Regions from separate parts of the Homo sapiens genome. Here region 2 is linked to region 1. The links are contacts of gene promoters, found by promoter capture Hi-C in human tissues and cell types (Jung and others, 2019). All regions are on one chromosome and are shown on one strand. Each heading gives the region's core, a stretch centred on a gene start or on the middle of the fragment in contact. The rest is flanking DNA. Distances are from core to core; before and after follow the strand shown.

Evidence for each region. Contacts are between HindIII fragments. The study calls those that stand out against the background at their distance.
Region 2: the fragment with the promoter of TMPRSS6 here is called in contact with the fragment with the promoter of ELFN2 in region 1 in 4 of the 25 tissues and cell types used here (H1 embryonic stem cells, mesendoderm cells, small bowel and 1 more).

Annotation. Positions count from the first base shown.
Region 1 is chr22:37,425,661-37,429,810 of GRCh38, reverse strand. It overlaps ELFN2 (extracellular leucine rich repeat and fibronectin type III domain containing 2), which reads left to right and starts at 2,332. Exons shown (of 3, transcript NM_052906.5): 1 at 2,332-2,513. The HindIII fragment of the contact is 24,898 bases long and covers 1-4,150 here.
Region 2 is chr22:37,107,753-37,111,902 of GRCh38, reverse strand. TMPRSS6 (transmembrane serine protease 6) reads left to right here and starts at 2,190. Exons shown (of 18, transcript NM_001374504.1): 1 at 2,190-2,400. RefSeq lists an enhancer at 3,459-3,960. The HindIII fragment of the contact is 35,568 bases long and covers 1-4,150 here.

The DNA.
Region 1 (4,150 bases), core at 1,083-3,582:
AGCCACATTAGCCACAATTCCAATCACTCAATAGCCACATGCAGTTAGTGGCTACTGTCTTTGACAGTGCAGACATGTATCCTTTCCACTATGGTCTAGAGAAAGCCCAGTCGAGTGTCTAGATGGTGTGGTCCACTATGACCCTCAGGCCAGGCCAACTCTATCTTCTATATGGTGGCAGAAAGTCAGCTAAGAGCTGAAACTCTTGTCAATGTACATCTGCCCAGTAAGGGCAAAGTCTCCAAAGGGAGATTCTTAGACCGTTTTAGAGCTTCAAACAAATTCTGACCAAATCCAGCCAGACCTGGAGGTCTCCAGGGAGAAGGGAGTGGCCGGCACTGTGCTGGGGGTACTGGCTGCTTTTGCTATATTTCTTTCACAAAGGAGGAAACAGGCTCAGAGAGGGTTGTGACTTGCACTCTGGAAGATGACTGGGAATGTCTCGGAAACAGAGCAGCAAGAGGCTGTTTTGCCACTGACTCCCTGGTATTCTTTGGGGTCATCACTGCTCAGTTTCTTGGGCAGGAGCGGATTAGGTGGCATCTGCCAGTGCCCATCTCAGAAAGTGTCTGGGCCTGAGAGCCACAGGGGGGCTGTTGGCTTGGGGAGCACTCTAATTTCTCGAGGGATCCGCCAGAGGGCGCAGAGGCCGTTATGTTCCGCCTGAGGGGCTCTTCCAGCAAGGTCTTGGAGCTGGGACCCTGCTTCTTGCCCAGCCTTGTCAGGGATACACACCATGTGTTGGATACCGCCCCTGCCCTGTAGGAGGGCTCAGTTTAGAGGGCAGAGACAGCACATGGCTTGTTTGGGTTTGCAGCGAGGGACCTTGAAGGATGGGTAGGAGTGTGCCAGGCAGCCTGGGGTGCAGGTGGGGAACGCCCAATAGTCCTTCTGCATACCCCAGGACAACAAGTGGCCTGTGACCCAGTGCTTGTCTGCCCTCCCAGCCCCATCCTGGGCCGTTCCCTGTTCTTAGTTGAAAGGAGGGAGGAATTTCTGGACAGACGTTCTTTCTGCTCTACTAATACCCAACTCCGTGGAGTTCCCTGTACACACATACAAAGCTGTTTCATGCCTCTGTGCCTCTTTGCACATGCTGTTCCCAGAGTCCAGGACACCCTTCTCCTCCTTCTTTAGCTGGCCAACTCCTACTCATCCATCAAGATTCAGCTCAGGCAGTGGCTTCTTCTGGGGAGTCTCCTTATTCCAGACCTGCATGAGATGTCCCGACGGGGAGTTCCCGCAGCCTGGACTTCATCTGCTGTGCAACACCTGAGAACAGGCGCTGGTGCATGCGGTCCTATAAAAGTGATGGAGAAGTACAGGGCCTGCTGGCAGCAGGCCTCCGACATGCAGCTCGCAGGGCCTCGGGAGGAGGTGCTTGCATGCCCAAGCACCAAGTTATAGGCCCCGGGTGCCAGGCTTCTTGCATCTTCCACCTCCTCCTCCTCCTCCCAGCATCCACCCCTTTGCAGGTGGCAGCAGGTGGCAGGGGCTTTGGCGTAAGGGGCGGGGAACTGGGCCTCTGGAAGGCTAATGAAGGTTCTCTAGCTACAGATGAGCCCAGTATCCCTTGGACCTACTCCTGGAGGGGTGGGGAAAGGCAGTGAGTGCCCTGGCACAAGGTAGGGGAGCGTAAAGTCTAATACTGTCTGTAGGCTCCCTGTGTAACCTTGGGGGAATCACTCCTCTCCGAACCTCAGTTGTCTGGCCTGTAAAATGGGAACGCAGCAGCCGCACTTCCCCAGTCGCCAGCGGTTGAACGCGGGACCAACCAGCAGGGCGCAGGCGGCAGGGCATGGAGGTACAAGGCGGAGAGGGGGCCCATCAGCGGAGGCGGAGTCCAGGGGGAGGGCGAGTCCAGGCGCACTTCGGGCGGCCCCGCCGCAAGTTTGCCCCCAGCTGTTGAATGCGCTGGCGGAGGCCGGACCCGGACCCGGACCCGGATCCCGCGGGGTGAGCAGCGCAGGGGGCCGCGGCCGGGACAGGGGTCCGCCAGGCCGGGGCTCGGGTCCGTGGGGCCGCCTTCGCCTCCCCGGGCGCTGCAGCTGCAGCGGCGGCGCCAGGCGCGGCCCCAGCCCCGCGGGCGTGTGTCTGCGAGCGCGCGTGTGTCCGTGGAGCGTGCGGCCGGCTCGGGGGCGGGAGCGGGCTTGCTGCGGAAAGGCCTGCGGAGGGCACCGGGAGCGGGCGGGCTGGCGGACGGACAGACGGGGACGGACAGACGGACACAGCCTGCCGCGGTCCCTGACGCGCGCCGCTTGGCCCCTCCCGGGCGCCCTCCCCGCCGAGGCAGGGGCAGAGGCGCGGCGGCGGGGAGGAGGGGGCGGCGGCGTCTGCGCGCACACGCGCGCTCCCAGACACACACACAGACACACGCGGGCCACCCCACGGCCACGCACCCCGCACCCACACCCGCGCTCACACTCACATTCACACTCACACTCACACGCGCAGGCCCCGCGGCCGCCGCTTCCCGGAGGCGGTGCTTGGCCCGGATCCCGGCTGGGGCTGGGGTAAGTGAATTCCTCTGGATCCGAGCGCCGCGACCGACCGACCGGGGAGACGGTGGGAGTCGGGGCTGGAGCCGGAGGGCACCCCCTCCGTCAGTGGGGGTGGGGCTTGGAGAGGGACACGGAAGGGGGGATGAGACGGGGAGAGCCACCCCCAGTGTCTCCTGGGTCTGGGGATCCCCGTGAGACCCCCGGGGGACCACCCTGCGCGAGGGAGGTGGTGGTGGTGGCGGTGGGCGGAGGCGGTGGGAGGACACCGAGGACGGTCGGTGAGGTGAGCGTTTCTGGGGGTGGTGCAGAGGCTCGATGGTGGACGGTGTGCCAGCCGGTGCCACACTGCACCTCTCTGCCCTCATCTTTTCGAATCGGGGGCCCTAACCCCTCTCTTTCACGGGGTGCTGCCGGGTCAAGGCATTCATCCTCTAGCTGGTAAGAGGGGTTGACGGGGTGGATGCCTTCTAGGGGAAGGGGGGCCAGGGTGGGGCTTGACGGCGGTGGGGTTGGTAAGACCAGAATTGGGGGGTGGGGACCCTTTCAGAGGCGCTGGCCAGGGACAAGGAGGGAGGCAGCCCAGGGAGGCGGCATAAATCGCAGACACTGCAGCTCTGGCAGGGCCGGGGCCACTGCCGGGTGTGTGTGTGTGTGTGTGTTTGTGTGTGTGTGCGAGCGCGTGCCAGTGTGTGTGTGTGCGTGCGTGTGTGGGCTCCAGCAGCTGTCAGGGGACGGGGAGGGGGTGGGTGTGTTGGCTGGTGGGGCGCCGTGTGCATGTGGAGAGGATTGTGCGTGCTGTGTGTGTGTGGTGTGTGCGTGTGTGTGTGGACATGGGGTGGACCCTGCTCTCTGTCTGTATACACACAAGCGCACACACGCACACTGTCAGTGGCCTGGCAGGATTTCCTCGGAATGTTTGGAGGGAAGGGAGCTGATGTGTGTGTGTGTGTGTGCGCGCGCGCGCGTGTGCATGCACACTCGGGGAGCTTGTGTCCAAAACAGAGGCCACAGGCCATGGTGTGTCAGGCGTGCCCAAGGAGGGAGACGAGAAGGGGACAGTGGTGCTGACCGTGCACTCAGCTGGGGAGGAACGTGGTACTCGGCACTTTCTGCAGCTCAGGGCTCTGTGCTGTGCCCCTTCCCCCTGGACTCCTCCCACCCAGCAGCTGCGGCTGGAGGGCACTGCCTTGGTCCCTTGCTGAGACGCAGGTGTTGGGCTGGAGTGTGTGTGTGTGTCTGGGCTGCGGCTGTCGCTATCAGCAGGCCAGGCTGTCGGAGTCAGAAAGCTGGAGGGAGTGGGGTGCTGGCAGCACCTGGAGGAATGTGGTGGAAGCTGTGGGGCGCGGACTGCCCGGCGCGGTTACCGAGAGGCGTTTTAATATGCAAGTTGCATCATGAGATGGGACTGGGAGTGTGTGTGTGTGTGTGTGTGTGTGTGTATGTGTATGTGCATGGCTGACACCCCTGTTCTCGTGGCCCGTGGACACCTGTGGGACGTGTCACGTCTGGGCCATCAGCAAAGCATGTGGGCATGTGTGTCCCCTGAGAGGGGTGCACAGGCAGGTGCTGTCCTGATGAGCCGGGGGCCCTGCAACTGTGTGGGTGGGGAGGTGGGTACCTCTGGGCCATCAACGCCTAGGCAGGAAGAA
Region 2 (4,150 bases), core at 941-3,440, 320 kb after region 1:
TGGCCCCGACACACCAGCGTGTCACCATGAGAAGAGGAGAAACCCGCTCTCGGCGCCCCCCACAGTGCTGGGCCTTCGCACACGTTGTTTCCCGTTCATCAAGAAGGGGCGAATTTTTTTCATTCGACAGATGGAAGAAGCACCGCTCAGAAGTCAGGGAATCTGCCCAGGTTCCTACAACTAAAAGGGAGCCAGGTAGGGCTGAAAACCGGCGGTCACGGCAAAGCCCGGGCGCGGGGCCCTGTCCCATCCCAGCCAATCCATAAGCATCTCACACTTCACACCCGCTGCACACTCCACTCACACGCCTCACACTCCACACATGCCTCACGCTCCACACACACCTCACACTCCACACACGTCTCACACTACACACACGCTTCACACTCCACACATGCTTCACACTACATACACCTTACACTACACACACACCTCACACTATGCACACACCTCACACTAAACACATGCCTCATATTCCACACATACTGTGAGCATGCACACACACACACACACAGCTGCACACACCTCTCATGCTCCATACACACCTCACACCATACGTACCTCAAAGACACACACACCTTACACTGCACATTCCCAGCACCCACACTGCACACACATGCACAGTCCATATGCCCACACAACACACTTCACACACCCCCCACCCCACACCATACAAACCTCACAGACACACCTCTCACACAAATCTTATACCCCACACACAATCCCTACGCTCCACACACACACACACACACACACACGCACATTCTACACATACATAATCTACACACACAAATTCCAGACTGTCTCTCTTACACACACACTCTGGGACCCATATGCCCACAGCACACAGCATCTCAGGCGTGCACCCCGCATTCTGGCCTCAGGATGTAGACTCGCTGAAAGTCAGCCTTGTCTGAGACAGACGCCCGCTGCCCTGCACGCACCCTAGAAAGCCCTGGCTCCCATCCGGCACTTCGGCACGCATATGGCTCAAACCCATCTCCACAGCAACGCTGTTCCATAGAACAACAACGCAGGTCACACTTGTGACTTAACCTGTCTAATATCCACATGCAACAAGGGGTGTGGTGGCCCGCGCCTGTAATCCCAGCTACTTGGGAGGCTGAAGCAGGAGGATCATGTGGGCCCAGGAGCTCCAGACCAGCCTGGCAACCTAATGAGACCCTGTCTCTGAAAAAAAAAAAAACAAGAGAGCCAGAAGAAAATTGCTTTTAATAATACATTTTATTTATCCCATGATCACCAGTGTTATTTCAACATAAAATCAATATAAAAATTGTTATCGCGTTGGTTGACATCCTGTTTGCACTTGGCCTTGGAAACCTGGTGTGCGTCTCCCCCGTGCAGCTTTTCTCAGTTCAGACTGACTCAAGAGCCACGGGTGACCAGCGGCTACCGTCATGGACAGCACAGCGCTACGGAACCAGGTAGGAATTCATGCTGCGTGCGGTCGCTCATGCCTGTAATCCTAGCGTTTTGGGAGGTCGAGGTGGGTGGAATCACTTGAGGTCAGGAGTTCGAGACCAGCCTGGCTAACATGGTGAAACCCCATCTCTTCTAAAATTATGAAAATTAGCCGGGCATGGTGGTGGGCGCTGTAATCCCAGCTACCTGGGAGGCTGAGGCAGGAGAATTGCTTGAACCCGGGAGGCGGAGGTTGCAGTGAGCCGAAATCACACCACTGCACTCTAGCCTGGGTGACGGAGTGAGACTCCATCTTAAAAAAAAAAAAAAAAAAAAAAAAGAACGAGGTAGGAATTCAAATAATTCCCAGCTAAACAGAAAATAGCATCAAACCCCACCCCTGCCTCCCCTTTCTCCTCTCCAGTCCCCAGAGTATATGGGCCCAGCCTCCTTTTCTCTCTCTCAGGCCAGCAGCTCCTTTAGTCTCGCCTGTCCAGGTAAGCACCTGGACTCACCCTTGTGAGCCCCTGCACTCACCTGCACCGGCCTCTGCACAGTCCCCAGTCCTTGGCTGTCCCTACCTCATGCTCTCGGGGACCAGGGGCTGTAACCAGGCAGGCATGTCACCAGGCAACGGGCCTCGGGGGAGAGCTCAGATCTCCCGCACCTGCCTGCCAGCCTCTGGGGTGCCCATGCGGGGGTGGGGGAAGATGGGGCGGGGCAGGCACTGCCTTCTCCTACCTCCTGCCTGTTTACCTGTACTTAGTCACAGTGCTGTCCAGGACCCAGCAGGAGGAGTTCCATGGAGCCTGAGGCCACAGGCCACAGGGGACAAGGGCCAGACACCCTGGTCATGGCTCTAGGCCATTGATCCAGCCTGGGCTGGCTGGGTGGGGGTGGGGAGGCCTTGGCCTGGACAAACAGAGGCTCCTGAGGCCTGTGTGCAGGCCCGGCACCTATCTGCCGCTCCCAAAGGTAAGCGGGGGCCTCCAGGACAGGGGACCGGGATCTATAAATGACCTAGTGACAGTGTCCACCCTAAGAGCTGGGCCTGGCTCCCTGCAGCCTGAGCCACCTACCCTGCTCCGAGGCCAGGCCTGCAGGGCCTCATCGGCCAGAGGGTGATCAGTGAGCAGAAGGTGAGGGGCCCACAGAGCTGGGGAGGGGAGGGACCACGCAGGGTGACACCAGGTGTGTGGACAGGCACAGCATCAGTGCTGGGTGGTTGGTGGCCTGGGATTCAGGTGGCAGGGACAGGAGGAAGGGAGAGGCCACCCTACCCCTGCCTCGCAGGACTGGACATGCTGCCCCCTCCACACCCGGTACCCCACCTGGGCCTTCTGGTGTAGGAGACAGGCCCGGAGCCCCACATTGCACCTATGTACTGACTTAAGCCCAGGACCCTGGGCTCACAGGCTCAGAGTTGGCATGTATGTGTATGTGTGTTCGTGTGTGTGTCTGTGTAGGAAGGGCGTGCATCTATGAATTTTTGTGTCATGAATAGATGTGCGTATATCCCTCCGCGTGTCTCCATCTGTGTACATCTGTGGGTCTGTGAGTGTGTTTATATGTGTGGAAGGGACCCCCACCCAGTCCCCCACACTCTCAGGACTCTAGGGCCTAATGGTTTCACTGAAAGATGCCCCTATGGCCCTAGCCCAGAGTCCCTGCTCTGCTCTGCTCTGCCCTGGCTGAGGGACCTCGGGTAAGTCATGTTACCTCTCTCTACCTCAGTTTCCCCAGCCATTAAATAGAGTCAGCAAAGTAGGCACCCCAGGCTGTTGGAGGCTGCAGTGGAGTTTGCAGCACTGCCCAGCACAGGGCTGGCACATGGTAGGAGTTCATACGCAGTGGTTGAATCCGGATCTGCATTGCTGGGGGAGTCGCGGCCCCGCCCCAAGGAGCTCAGCCTCCAGCAGGCAGACCCGAGACCCTCCAATGGCCAGAAGGGCAGGAGGGAGTGAGGAGCAGGTGCCAGGGTGGGGTCCATGGTGCTCAGAGCTGGGGGACTGCTTCAGGCCCCTGTGGCAATTGGAGCACAGTCCCCGCTTCCAGGAGTTCAATGTGAGGGGCAAAGAGAGAGTGCCCACAGGTAAGCTGCACATCGCGAGGGGCAGCCGCCCCTTCTAGGGCACTCTGGGAGAGCTGCGAAGAGGTGAGGTCTGAACTGAGGTGACAGGGGCTGCATAAGAGCTGGCCAGGTTGGGAGGTGGGGGCCCAGGCAGAAGGAAGAGTGTGGGGACGCCTGGCCGTGAACAAGCACTGACAGGGCTCAAGGTCCACGAGGGCTCTTGGTGCCGGCTGGCTGCTCTTAATCCATAAATGTTTGCTACCATCCCATTGTTAAAATTTCTCACCAATGGAAGTCCAGTGTCCTTGGGGTGCGACGGGGAAAAGAGAGGGTGGGAAAAAAGGAGGCAGGAGAAGTTGGCCAGGCCACATATGCACACAGCACCTTGGACTTCTGTAGGGAGGAAGGAGCTGGGACCTTGTCATTCATTCATTTAACAATTACTGAGTGTCCGCTGAGTACCAGACTCTGCTCTCATGCAGCTTACAGACAGGGAGGAGGCAGATAAATGACATATTTGCATATCAGGCAATTTAGGCCTCTGTAATTGCTATAAAGAAAAATGCAGGAGAGACGGGAGTGCCCAGGGAAGGCCTCTCTGGAGAGGTGACATCTGACCCTTTGGAGGAGGTAAAGGAGGGAGCCACGAGGCCA